Regions from separate parts of the Homo sapiens genome. Here region 1 is linked to region 2. The links are contacts of gene promoters, found by promoter capture Hi-C in blood cells and fetal thymus (Javierre and others, 2016). All regions are on one chromosome and are shown on one strand. The core of a region is centred on a gene start or on the middle of the fragment in contact, and the rest is flanking DNA. Distances in the headings are between cores, read along the strand shown. Region 1 holds the start of LOC105373421 (a long non-coding RNA gene). Region 2 holds the start of GRHL1 (grainyhead like transcription factor 1).

What was found. The method cuts DNA at HindIII sites, captures the fragments that hold promoters and counts their contacts. A CHiCAGO score of 5 or more calls a contact.
Region 1: a contact is called between a fragment that was not itself captured here and the fragment with the promoter of GRHL1 in region 2, in 1 of 17 cell types (endothelial precursors). The highest score is 5.5, in endothelial precursors.

The regions. Positions count from the first base shown.
Region 1 is chr2:9,808,891-9,815,392 of GRCh38, forward strand. It overlaps LOC105373421 (a long non-coding RNA gene), which reads right to left and starts at 5,827. Exons shown (of 3, transcript XR_007086206.1): 1 at 5,330-5,827; 2 at 1-1,257. RefSeq lists an enhancer at 552-1,052. The HindIII fragment of the contact is 2,463 bases long and covers 2,615-5,077 here.
Region 2 is chr2:9,946,124-9,952,942 of GRCh38, forward strand. It overlaps GRHL1 (grainyhead like transcription factor 1), which reads left to right and starts at 5,570. Exons shown (of 16, transcript NM_198182.3): 1 at 5,570-5,730. The coding sequence starts at 5,711. LOC105373422 (a long non-coding RNA gene) reads right to left here and starts at 4,730. Exons shown (of 3, transcript XR_922784.4): 1 at 4,582-4,730. RefSeq lists silencers at 4,801-4,880, 5,031-5,080, 5,181-5,230, 5,321-5,860. The HindIII fragment of the contact is 14,804 bases long and covers 1-6,819 here.

The DNA.
Region 1 (6,502 bases), core at 2,596-5,095, 140 kb before region 2:
TCAAGCAGGTTTGGGTGCCTGGCAAGGCAGCGGGAGAGTTTCAGGCCTGTACCCCTCCAATTTCCTCCTGGTCTTTCTCTCCGACACAGCACTGGCTGGTTCCAGAAGACCCCTCTGCCCTTCACACTGAGACCCTCTCCCAGGCAGGGAACGAGAGGCCGAGATTGACAAGAAGCCACTGGGTGCAGCAGGCAGCCCTGCTCCGCTCTGGCCTGGCTATGGGATGCTGGCCAAGAAATTCAACCTGTGAGCAGGAAAACAGGCAAAACCTGCCAGACCATTCCCTCTGAGAGGACGCACTCTTGTGTCTGTGATGAGCCCACATGGTGCTGAGCACAGAGATGCCCCAGCAGAGTGGCTGACATGCCCTTACCCTCAGAGATGGCCGAGCTGAGTGCCTAAAGCCTCCCAAGCAGGCCTGGGATTCACTCTGATCCAACCAACATGGGTGTTGCCCTAATTGTCGCTTTCCTCTGCCTTGAGAACCCTGGGAATCTGTGGGTGAAAACAAGCGGGCCTCACACAGCCCCCAAGCAGGACGCACCCAGCCTCTGGAGCAAACAGTGATACAGGCTGCCTGGGCCCAGCCCAGCTAAGGGAGATGGGACCTGCTGCCCTGACCCCTAGGGCAGGGGCTGGGGGTCTCGGGTGTCCCAACATGACGTTCCTGAGTCATGGCCTGGATTACCCCAGGGGGCTGGCTTGGAACATGCACAGGACACGGGCGCAGCAACCAGGCAGGTGCTCGCAGCTGGCAACAGGTGTCCTGGCTGCACCCAGCCGAGGAGGGGGGTCACAGGGCGTGGCCGGGTGACAGGCAAAACTCTGAGCAGACAGGCAGGGCTGACGGGTGGGTGTGTGTGCTTACACCCACTTGCACTCTCAGTCTCGCTCTGTCTCGAACACACACACACTGCACATGCACATAAGCAAACACACACACAAACACAGACATGCACCCAAGAACATGAGGGCACACATGCAGACAGGGCGGTTTCTGCAGCTCTCCCTTGTTCTCCAGGTGCTCTCTAGGACCCGGGACGCCTTCTGCTGTGGCCACTGCTTCTCCCTGTATGAGCTTCTGATGGGCAGTGATGGTCTCCTGGCACAGGTGCCCAGTAAAGGTCTGCAGCAAGGATGGGTGGATGGGTGAAGAGACGATGGGTAGGAGTGGATTAAGGCAGTCATGGGTGCCTCTCTCCTTAGTCCTCACAATTTCACTTAGATGGGTTCATAGCAGTGGCTGGAAACAGCTGTCTGTTAACAACAACAACAACAAAAAGCCCACTTCAATGACCTTTAAAATAACTTCCAAATAACAAGCAGAACTAAAATGTAAAAGTGCTTCTCTCCCTTCTACATGGAAGCACCGGAGGGCATTTCTGACATGGGCGTTTGGGTAGATAGACAGCACTTGAATATGGTTGGCCTGGGTGGGTTTATGTTACCACTCCGTGGGAAACTGTCCAACTGTGTTTTTATTTCAGAATTCCCATCCCTGCTTTTCACAACAGGCATACAAATCTCTCTCCTGGGCTAGGGGATGGTCACAGTGCTCTCTCTCTCTTCCCCTTTCCTCATCTCCCCTCATCATGCACTTATGGTAAAAAACAAAACAGGCCGGGCGCGTTGTCTCACGCCTATAATCCCAGCACTTTGGGAGGCCAAGGCGGGCAGATCACGAGGTCAGGAGACCATCCTGACCAACATGATGAAACCCCGTCTCTACTAAAAATACAAAAATTTGCTGGGCATGGTGGCACATGCCTGTAATCCCAGCTACTGGGGAGGCTGAGGCAGGAGAATCGCTTGAACCCAGGAGACGGGGGTTGCAGTGAGCCGAGATTGTGCCATTGCACTCCAGCCTGGCGACAGAGCAAGACTCCAAAAAAAAAAACAAAACCCTAACCTGATCAATAAGCCAAAAAAGAACTGAATTCTCACGTGGACTCCCCTACGTATACCTATCCTATACCTATGAGGTATGACCTTAGCAGATTAACCTCTCGATTTCCTCTTCTGTTAACTATGCATACTTCACTGGGTTGTTGTTTGCTTGTTTGTTTGTTTGTTTTTATGAGATGGGGTCTCGCTCTGTCGGCCAGGCTAGCGTGCAGTGGTGTGATCTCCGCTCACTGCAACCTCCGCCTCCTGAGTTCAAACATTTCTCCAGCCTCAGCCTCCCGAGTAGCTGGGATTACAGGCACGTGCACCACGCCTGGCTGATTTTTGTATTTTTAGTAGAGATGGGGTTTCATTATGTTGGCCAAGCTGCCCTAGAACTCCTGACCTCAGGTTATCCACCTGCCTCAGCCTCCCAAAGTGCTGGGATTACAGGCCTGAGCCATCGTGCCTAGCCTGGATTTTTATGAGAACTACATGAATCCAGGTTGGTTTATACTTTTCTAATTGGGGAGAAATTCCCTTGAGAAAATTCAGAAACACATTGAAGATTTTGGAGCCACAGGATAAACACGTTTCTTCATGTTGAAGTGGCAAAGATTTGAAGAAATCATACTGTATTTCCTGTTAAAGCAAACATGACTCAGAATAGAGAATAATGCAGAAATGCAAGAATTTTTAAGCTAAAACTCAGGACTGGAAAGAAACGTCAAGCTTGGAACTCGTAGTGCCAGGCTCTGCCCCTCATCTCACCAAAGCTCAGTTTCTCCCCCGTTCAGGGTTGAATTGTGCCCCCCAAAAAGAGATGTTTTTGTCCTGACCCCAGTACTTGTGAAGGTGAACCTATTTGGAAACTGAATCTTTGCAGAGTAATCAAGTTCAGATGAGGCCATTAGGACGGACTGTCATCCAATACAACTGTCCTTATAAGAGGAAGACAATGGTACATGAGGACAGTGACACACAGGGAGACGCCTCGTGGGGACAGGCAGAGGCCGAGGCACTGCCGCTGCAGGCCAGGACACCGGGGGCTCCCGGCCAGGCCAGCGGCTGGAAAGGCAGGCAGGATTCTGCCCAGAATATCAGAGGGCCTGGCCCTGCCCCTGTCTTGATTTTGGACCTCCTGGCTCCCAAACTGTGAGGGAGTAAATGGCGGAGTCTCAGCCACCCCAGTCTGTGCTCTGTGGCAGTGGCGCAGTATCACACACTCCCTGACTGGGAAAAGGGTGGGAAGTCCTGCAGCTGGCCAGAGAGAACCGGCAGACCCGTTTCAGTCCTGTTATCCTGCCCCGGCGGCCGGGCCAGTTCCCCCCGGGAGCCCCGGTGTCCCCCTCCTGTGTGTCCTGCTGGTTCCCGGCAGATGCTCCGGGCGCCACTGCTCTGTTAGCCGCTGTTGGCCTCCTCCTGTCACATGTTTATGCTTGTAGTAGCAGAATCCAAATCCGGGCCATTATCGCAGGTGGCGGGCCTTAACCTGGCAAGCCTGTGAACCCTTCCCAGTGCTGCCCTGGAGAAGGGCTGGCCGCTCAGGCCCTCACAGCCTGAGAGCTCGGAGAAGCTGCCCCCAGACTCTCAGGGCCCTGTGCCTGCCCCAGCCACTTGGGCCTGAAATTAGCGAGGGGCCACACATAGGGGCCCAGACCAGACCCCAGAGAAGTCCCCTGCCCCTGACTTTCCACACATGGCAGCAGTGAGGTGTCTGCTCCCTGGCTAGGGCAGCATTGTTGAGCCCCCACTGGAGCTGGGCGTCTCCCTGCTCTCAAACAAACCAACTGTGCACAGTGGGGCAGGGACGGTTTCCTAGAGGAAGTGGGGCTTAGGCTGACTCAGGGAAGGGCAGTTTCACTGATAGGATCTGTTTACCCGCCTGACTTCTCCAGCATCACCATAAGCTCACAGGGCTGGAACGGATTCAGGTCGCCCAGGCCCAGGGCATGGGAATTGGAAAACGTTTGTTGAGGTGAATCAAAGCTAGATGGAAGGCCAGGCACGGTGGCTCATGCCTGTAATCCCAGCACTTTGGGACACAGAGGTGGGCGGATCACTTGAGGTCAGGAGTTCGAGACCAGCCTGGCCAACATGGTGAAACCCCGTCTCTACTAAAAATACAAAAACTAGCTGGGCGTGGTGGCGGGCACTTGTAATTCCAACTACTCAGGAGACTGAGGCAGGAGAATCACTTGAACCCGGGAGGCAGAGGTTGCGGTGAGCCCAGATGGCACCATTGCACTCCAGCCTGGGCGACAAGAGTGAAACTCCATCTCAGAAAAAGGAAGAAGAAGAAGAGGAAGAGGAGGAAGACGAGGAGGAAGAGGAAGAAGAAGAAGAAGAAAGAAGAAGCTGAAGAAGCTGGTTGGGAAGAAAGGGAATGCGATTCTATGAGGCTGGAGCCAAGACGAGCTGAAGAAGCTGGTTGGGAAGAAAGGGAAGGCGATTCTATGAGGCTGGAGCCAAGACGAGCACTGGAGCAGAGGTTCAGCACAGCGTCCAGGGAACAGACAGTGCTGTGGGGGGAGCGTGGGGGAGGAGGGGGTGGCAAGGACCCCTGTCCACCATCCTGGTGGGGGCCCAAAGGTGCTTTCAGTGTCCTATCACTGCCATGGCTGCTGGCAGAAAGTCCTGGCAATGATCTCGCACGTCTGGGGCTCAGGAAGGGAAGCCCACCCGCCCACAGGAAAGGGATGCCTGAGTGGCCTGGCCAAACTCTGCCCACATCTCCTCTCTGGCAGGACGCATGCTACCCAGGCCCAGTCCCGATCCCAGGACAGCACCCACAGGAAGGCTGCCAGTGGTTCTCCTGGAAGCAAAGACTCCAGCTGCCTGGCTTCTCCCTTCCCCAGGGACGCCTCCATCCCAAGCTCTGGCCAACAGGCTGCCCAGGCTCCCTGGGAACCCCTGGGTGCCGTGGCGAGTGGGGGCTGTGGTCTCACCCCCGGGCACGCCCTTCCTCCAAAGGCCTGGCCAGTCCCAGTGCATCCTGTGCTGAAACTCCCAGGGGATGGGGTTGGGACAGCCCAGCAGGTTCCAGAATGCTCTCTCCTCTGTCCACCCTGAGTTAGAAGTCTGTGTGGAGGCCCAAAGGTACTTTAAGTGCCCCAGCACTGCCATGGCCTGGGAAGCCAGGACACACAGGCTGAAAGAGTGAGGTCTTCCCATCAGAGACCCTGAGCCCCGAAGCTTTGGAATCAGCAGCGTTCAGCGCGATGGAGGCGCGGTGCCACCAGGTGGCGCCGTCAACCCCTCACTTAGGGCTAAGCGCCCTGGCCCCTCTGGATGAACCAGCAAGGGCGGAGGGGGACACCGGAGAGCGAGACGGCCTCGCTAAAGAAGGCCCCCTGGCCTTTCAGGATGAGGGGCTCAGTCAGCCCAGTGATGGGGACTCCGTGAGAACTGAGCTGTGAAAACGTGTTGGAGGCACAGTACCCACCTCTGCCGCGTCTGAACCCAGATTTGCCAGGAAGGCTCTTGCTTTCTCAATCTCTGTTCCCCGGTCATCACGAATACCCTGTGCTGGTCACTTTGTGCATCCCCATTTTTTTTTTCTTCCAAGGATACGGTCACGTGGGCAGAGCTGCAGAGACAGGATCCTAGACAGGCAGGCCTTGAATGCCAGGGCAGGAGATTGCTGAGGATTCAGAAGATCTCGGGAAGCTTCTTAAAGGCCCTCGACCCCTCTCGCTACCTATGAGGGCAGGACTGGAGAGGAGAAGGGAGAAGGCCGGAGACCAGGGGCAGCCCCCATAGGAAGCAGACTCCAGCCGCCTGGCCTCTCCCTTCCCCAGGGACGCCTCAGTGCGGGGTAGGCGCTACGGGAGACCAGGGAAGGGGCTGCTGCAATATTCGAGGTGAGAGTGTCCTGCACTGAAGCATGGTACAAAGAGGTGGGCTGGAGAGGGACGGTTCCAAGAGCAGCTGGCCACCGTCTGCTGCCCTGGCGTGCCCGCCCATTGTCCTCACTGTCTGCCACACCCTCCCTAGCAGGCCATACAAGGACATGTCCTCCCAATGTCCTGTCCCCCGGCCTCAGGCTCAGTCTTTCAGAATTGGCCTCCCTAATCCCATTCCGTCCAGGCTCTGCTAAGAGACAGCCAGGGAAGCTTGCAGGTGAATGTGCGTCTATGAGCAGGCGTTGTGCATGCAAACAGCCCTGCTTGGTGACGCTGAGCATTTTAACAGGAGCCCTCAGCAAGCAAACTCTTAGTCAAGGGGGTGACCCCTAGTGACATTTCAGGCTTTGGGGAGACCAAATCTAGAAGTCTTCTGAAGTCCCTGAAATCAGAGAAATGGGACCATTCTAATAACCAGAAAAATCAGCTTCCTTTGACCCTAGGCGTCTTCTCAGGTCCCCAAGGACAATCTCCTGCTTAATGCACATGACATCATGTTGACCCATTGGCCCAGGGTTAGCCTTCAGCTCTGCCCCCACCCTAGATCCTACTATAGCTGGAAGGTGGCGACCATTTGAACGTGGGACAAGGGACCATTTCTCCCTAGCAAGATGAAGTCACTTACCCAAGCCTTTGTGACAAGTCCGCATCAGAGCCAGCCCAGAGCTGCATCTCTTCCAGCCCTAAGACTGATGAGATAGATAGATAGATAT
Region 2 (6,819 bases), core at 4,320-6,819:
CGGAGGTGCTTGGGGAGTCCTCCTACTGGGATGGGAAGGGTTCCTGGAAGAGCTGGCATTTGAAGTTGGCCACTAAAGATGTAACTTGGGTGGCAAGGGAGAGAGGAAAAGCACAGGCAATGCCAGGTGCCTGAGATTCAGGACGCGCTCAGAGAACTCTGTGACAGGGGTGCAGTGACTCTACTGAGATCACCCTGCTGGTCAATAGAAGAACCTGGACTAGAACCCAGGTCTTGTAACTCTAAATCTACTAGCCACCTCCCAACCCCACTCAATGCACCCATGAGCCTGTTAGTACCGTACCATATGGTCTCCAATGGGAGCGGGGGTCCCAAATTAGTTCTCTACTCTGAAACTCATGGCTTGGGAAGGTACCTTCAAAGATCCTCTTTCTTTGAAAAAACACTACCTTTGAGTTTAAAAAGATTATTGCCAAACAAATAAAAAGATGAAAAACCTCACTCATAACTTAAAAAAAAAAGCAATTCAAAACAACGAGATCCCATTTTTCATCGAATAGACTAGCCAAGCAAACTTCAATGTTGCCCACGGTTGTCTAGGGTGCGGCACGGTAGGCAGTCTGATATTCTGTGGTAGGAATCTAAATAAGAGCAGCCTTTTGGAAAACAATCCGGCAAGAGCCAGGAAAATGGCAGCTGCAGGCCAGGTGCGGTGGCAGTGGCTCATGCCTGTAATCCCAGCACTCTGGGAGGCCGAGATGGGTGGATCACCTGAGGTCAGGAGTGTGAGACCAGCCTGGCTAACATGGCAAAACACCATCTCTACTAATAATACAAAAATTAGCCGGGTGTGGTGGCAGGTACTGGTAATCCCAGCTACTCTGGAGGCTGAGGCTTGAGAATCACTTGAACCCGGGACGTGGAGGTTGCAGTGAGCAGAGATTGCATCACTGCATTCCAGCCTGGGCAACAAGAGCCAAACTCCATCTCAAAAAACAAACAAACAAAAAACCAAATGGCAGCTGTGCATTCCCTTTTCTCAGTAACTCCGATTCTAGGAATTTATCCTATGGCAATACCTGATCAAGTGTGCAAAAATGTAGTTAGAGGAATGTGTTATTGTGAATGTTTGTAATTAAGAAAAGCTAGGGGAAAAAACCCTAATTGCTCACCAATACATTCAAGTTATCATATAGCCATTCAAGGAAACACCATACAGCCATTTTTTAAAGTGAACTAGATTTCTATGTGCTGATGTGGAAAATGTTTAAACCATAGAAAGGAAAAACAAGCAAGCTGTGGAAGATTGTGCAGTCCGAATCCCATTTGTCTAAGAAAATAAACCATGTGAGTGCTTGTACAGACAGAAGATATCTGGAAAGATCAACACAAATTGTTCACAGTGGTTGTCTCAAGGATTAGGGGCTGGGAATGGAGGAGGCCAGGGACTGCATTCTGTATCCTTCTGCAGAGCTTCAATTTCTTCCTTTCTCCTTTCTTTGTCCCGTTCCTAATCCCTTTCTATCTTTTTTTATTTTTGAGATGGAGTCTTGTTGTCACCCAGGCTGGAGTGCAGTGGCGCGATCTTGGCTCACTGCAACCTCCGCCTTCTGGGTTCAAGCGATTCTCCTGCCTCAGCCTCCCGAGTAGCTGGGAATACAGATACCCACCACCATGCCCGGCTAATTTTTGTATTTTTGTTAGAGATGGGGTTTCACCATGTTGGCCAGGCTGGTCTCAAACCCCTGACCTCAGGTGATCTGCCCACATCGGCCTCCCAAAGCTCTGGGATTACAGGCGTGAGCCAGCACGCCCAGCATTTTTTCTTCCATAAAAACTATGTGCATATATTACTTTAATAATTTAAACAAATAGTAAAGAACTTAAAAATGAAGAGGGTAGGCCAGGCATGGTGGTTCACATCTGTAATCCCAGCACTTTGGGAGGCTGGGAGGATGGGAGGATCGTTGGAGCACAGGAGTTCAAGACCAGCCTGGGCAATATGGTGAGACCCTGTCTCTACAAAACATACACACACACACACATACACACTAGCCAGGTGTGGTGGTGTGCACGTGTAGCCCCAGCTACTCAGGAGGCTGAGGTGGGAGAATCACTTGAGCCTGGGAAGTCAAGGCTGCGGTGAGCTGTGATGGTGCCACTGCACTCCAGCCTGAGTAACACAGTGAGACCCTGTCTCAGATAAAATAAAATGAAATAAACAGGGTTCATGGCAACAGGTCATAGATAGAGATTTTCATTTCTGTTTTAGAGAGCTATTAGAGACAAACTAAACAATCCCATATTCAAATTGACAAAATAGACCCAATGTTTTTAATTACTACAGCTATGGTCTAATAACCTCAGGCTCTTCCTGTTCTTGTTTTTGGCTTTATGATTGGATATTTCTTCATTCATCCCCTATTTATTTTGTGCCTACCATGTATTAGGCTCAAGGACTTTCATCTTCTGCAACGGTGGGGGGGGTCATTTAAAAGAGCCCTAGCTATGCTACAGAAGGGAGGAGACTGGGCGCAGAACGCATGCCTGCAGAGGACTGCATCCATTCAGTAGACATTTGCTGGATATTTTCTATGTATATACCAGGCACCAGGAACATAAAAATGAAGGTGGTACAACCGCTGCCCTCTCTGGAAAAGCTCACACTTGGTGGAGACAGACACAAACAGGAAAGCCCATAAGACAAACATGGTGATGGGCAATGCAGAAGGCGCTGTGGATCCCACAGGACACCTTGTCCAGCCTAGAGGGTTGGGAAGGCCACCTGGAGGAAATGAGCCAGGCTGGAAGTTGAGTGGAGTGGGCCAAGCATGGAGGGAAGGAGCAGGGAATGCGGGGACGGTGCTTGGGAGTGAGCAGTAAGGGAAGTGCTGGGCCGCCAAGGGGAGGCTGAGCTCAGGAGTGTGGACTTTATGGTGAGTATAACTGAGTGACAAGAAATCTGTGTTTTATAAAGGCCACTCCAGTGGCAGTGTGGAGCCGGGTCAGAGGAAATAGAAGAAAGGCAGGTAGAGGGACACTGTTCCCAAGTCAGTCACTTTGGCACCACCCTGATGACTTGTACCCTATTTGGGACCATCTGTGCTGTTATTGACTAGCATTTTTCTTAAATTAGCGTGCTTAGAAAACATAATTGATTTGGCAGGGCGCGGTGACTCATGCCTGTAATCCCAGCACTTTGAGAGGCCGAGGCGGGCAGATTGCCTGAGGTCAGGAGTTTGAGACCTGCCTGGTCAACTTAGTGAAACCCCATCTCTACTAAAAATAGAAAAATTAGCCGAGCGTGGTGGTGGGCGCCTGTGATCCTAGCTACTTGGGAGGCTGAGGCAGGAGAGTCGCTTGAACCCAGGAGGCAGAGGTTGCAGTAAGCTGAGATCACGGCACTGCACTCCAGCCTGGGCAACAGAGGGAGATTCCGCCTCAAAAAAAAAAAAAAAAAAAAAAAGGAAAAGAAAAAAATAATAAATGATTTAAACAGGAAACTAGTGGTAAGAACAAACAACAGGCTGCATGGATCCAGTGCTGGGCCCGGGGTCAGAGGACAGAAACTGCGAAGGGCGGTCTCAAGTGAGGCTGCCGATTCCGGTCCCTGAAGGCCTTGGACCAGGGCACAGAGGAGGGACTGCTGGCTGCAGGAGGGCCCTGTGACCTCATGCTGCTCCTCACTTCACCTCCTTCCCTTGGCTTCCACGCTTCCATTGCTTCCGACCTCGGTGTCCCCGTCTTCTGTCTCCTCCACTGGCTCTTCCTCCCAGCCTTTCTGTGTCGGAGGCTCCTGGATCCAGCATGGGTCCCATCCTCTTTCCTTCCTGCCTTCTCATGGCTTTAAATGGCCTCTAGACGTGGGCGGCGCCCAGATGTGAGCTTCAGCCCAGACTTCTCCCTTGCACTCCAGCCTCGTACCCAGGAGCCCACCTGATTCATGGATTTTTATCTCCCATACATCTTGAGCTTAGCACGTCCAAAACAGACTCTCGTTCTCCCCCAAATCTTCTATGCCCCAGGTCTTCTGTATCCCAGGGGATGGCAAATCATTCCTCCAGTTGCCCAGCTGGAAACGCTGTAGTCATCCTTGATTCTCTCTTTCTCTCACACCCCATATCCAATTTTCAGACAATCCTGCTGGTCCCACCTTCAAAGCATATCCAGAATTCGGCCACTTCCCACCACCTCACTCTATTGCCCTCGGCCTGCATCATGGCAATGGCCTCCTACCTGGTCCCCACCACGCAGCAGCAGAGAACTATTTTAAAATGTGAGACCCTGTCACTACCCTGCTCCAAGCCCCTCCAAGGCGTCCCCACCTAGCCCAGAGGGAAAGCCACAGTCCTTACGGAAGCCGGCAAGGCCCTGCTCAATCCGCTCCCCTGCGCCCACTATCTCTGACCGCAGCTCCCGCCTCCCTGTGCCCCACCAGCCACCCGGGTCTCCTCAAGGGTCACAAAACACACCAGGGTCCCTGCCTCAGGTACAGTCCCACCTTCGTGGCCCCTCATCTCCTTCAAGCCTGAAAGCCTCGCTCCTCCCCGCCTCCCCAGGGCCTGCCTGCTTTACCTTCCAACCAGCCACACCATTTACTTGTTTTTGTATTGCCCGTTACCCCAACTAGGAAGGCGAGGAGTTGTGTCTGTTCTGTTGACTGCCCTGTCCCCGGCGTCTGGGGCCGCGCCTGTCCGAGGGTCAGGTCCGACGCTGGGCATGTGGGGACTCAGTGAGCGGACCCTGGGAAAGACGGCAGCTCGGGAAGGACAAGTGGGGGCCGTCGCGGTGGAGTGGTGCCCGGGGCCGGCCCGGGGCGCGCGACTGCACGGGCAGCGTGGGGCGGCCGCGCGGGGAAGTGGCGCCCGGGAGGCTGCGGGGCACAGACATCGCGGAGCCCCAGGGACTGCCGCCGAGGGGACCGCGGGAGCTGCGAGGGCAAGAAATCCTAAAAGCGCGCGGCCGCGGTGGGCCAGGAGAAGGGACATTCCGGAGACGGCTCTCGGGGGAAGCCACGGGACTCGGGCGTGACAGCCTGCGAGAACCGAGAGGTGAGACGCGCGACCGGGGAGCGCGGCGACCGGCAGAGGCGCCCCCGCCGGGCGAGCGCAGGGGCAGCGCGGGGCGCTGGGGCCGGAACAGCGGGCAATGTGGGCACGGGGCGCGGAGGCCTGAGTGAGCGAAGAAGGAGGCGGCTGTACGGCCGGGGCTCGTCGCGAAGGGGATGGCCGGGGACGGCGGGGACGGCGGGGGCGGCGGGGGCGGTGGCGGGGCGCGAGCGGGGGCGCTCTCGGTGCGCGCGGAGGTTGGCGGGTGCGCGCCGCAGCCGCAGCGCTCCCTCTCCTGTCAGGGCAGGCGCGTACGGCCGCGAGTCGGGCGCGCAGCCCCGGGAGCGCAGTCCCGGGCGCAACCTCGCGGAACGCGCGGCCCCCGCCCCCCGCCCCGCGCCGCTCGTCCCCGTCAGCCCCGCCCCGGCGCTCTTCTCGCCGACCAATCAGGAGGCGCGACCGGCCTCCCAGCCCCGAGGCCTCGCCCCCAGCCGGCGCATCGCCAGCCAATGAGCGGCCGAGCCCGGCGCCCAGTGCGCGCAGCCCGCGCGGAGCCGGCTCAGAGCGAGAAAAGCAAACCCAACCCGTCGGGGCCGCCGCTCCGGACCCGCAGCCGCCGCCGCCGCCTCCTCCCCCCGGATCGGGTGTACTGTCCCAACCCGAAAGTCCAGTTCTGCGGCCCGGCAGCGGCGAGCGGGCGCGATGACACAGGAGTACGACAAGTGAGTGAGGCGCAGGAGTCCGGCCGCCGCGGGGGGGCCGCGCTGAGGGGCCGCACCTGCAGCGAGCGAGCCGGGCGCAGACCCGAGGCCGCGCGGGCGGGCGGGCGCGGGGCGCGAGCCGGGGGCCGCTGTCCACTCCACGCCGCCACGGCCTTTGCCCCTTAGCCCTGCCGTGCTCTTTGTTCGGTCGGAGCCTCGGGAGGAGAGACCCTGTCCTCGGGGAAACTCGACACCGGAGGGGCCACCCTCCTCCCCTCCTCCGCGGCCAGGTTGGGTCCCCTCGGGCGCGCACCTTGGGGTCCGGGCCCCCGGCGCGGTCGGGTGCGGCGCGAGGTCGGGGCGCAGCCAACGCCCCCGGGCCTCCCCGCCCCCCTCTCCTGCCCGGTCGGCCTCGGGAGCCTGGTGGGGCTCGCGCCGCGTCGGGACAGGTGGACTTCTCCAGGTAATCTGTGGTCTCAGGCTCGTCACTCGGCGACCTGCTGGAACCTCCAAAACAGAAATGTAGGGAAAGGTTGAAGTGCCCCGATGTCCGGGCGTTTTCTTTTCCCTGGCTGGCGGCATGAGTGGGAAAACGGCTGTAGGAGTTATTTTGCCACTTGCATCATTGATGGTAATTACAGATTACCGTGTTTTTAGTGCTCGAGAGAATCAAGAGGATGAAACTTTGAAATCCGGGTGTTAAACGAGAAAGTACTGTACAAGCTAATATGCTTTTTAGAGTGTGTGATTTAAAAGCGTATTTCGACAAATGTGAGGTGGTAGTGTAATAAGGCATGGGGGATTAACTGGGCGAGGGAGTTTTCTGTATTTTCTTTGCAGCTTTTCTGAAAATATAAAATTGTCCTAAAAATTTTAAAAACTTACTAAAGAAAAAACAGGGAAATCGCACCAGGCCAGTCAGTATATTTCAGATCAGGAAGTTTAAGGCAGATAGGTACCCCTCCCAGTTTCTTAGTTATTTGTGAAGGATCGGTTTTTGTCAGTGTGTTCTTTTTCTGGATGAGATAGATATTTTGTATGGAGTATCTTAAATGGATTACTCTTATGTTGTAGAATATGCAGTTAAATTATTGCCTGAAACATATTTCA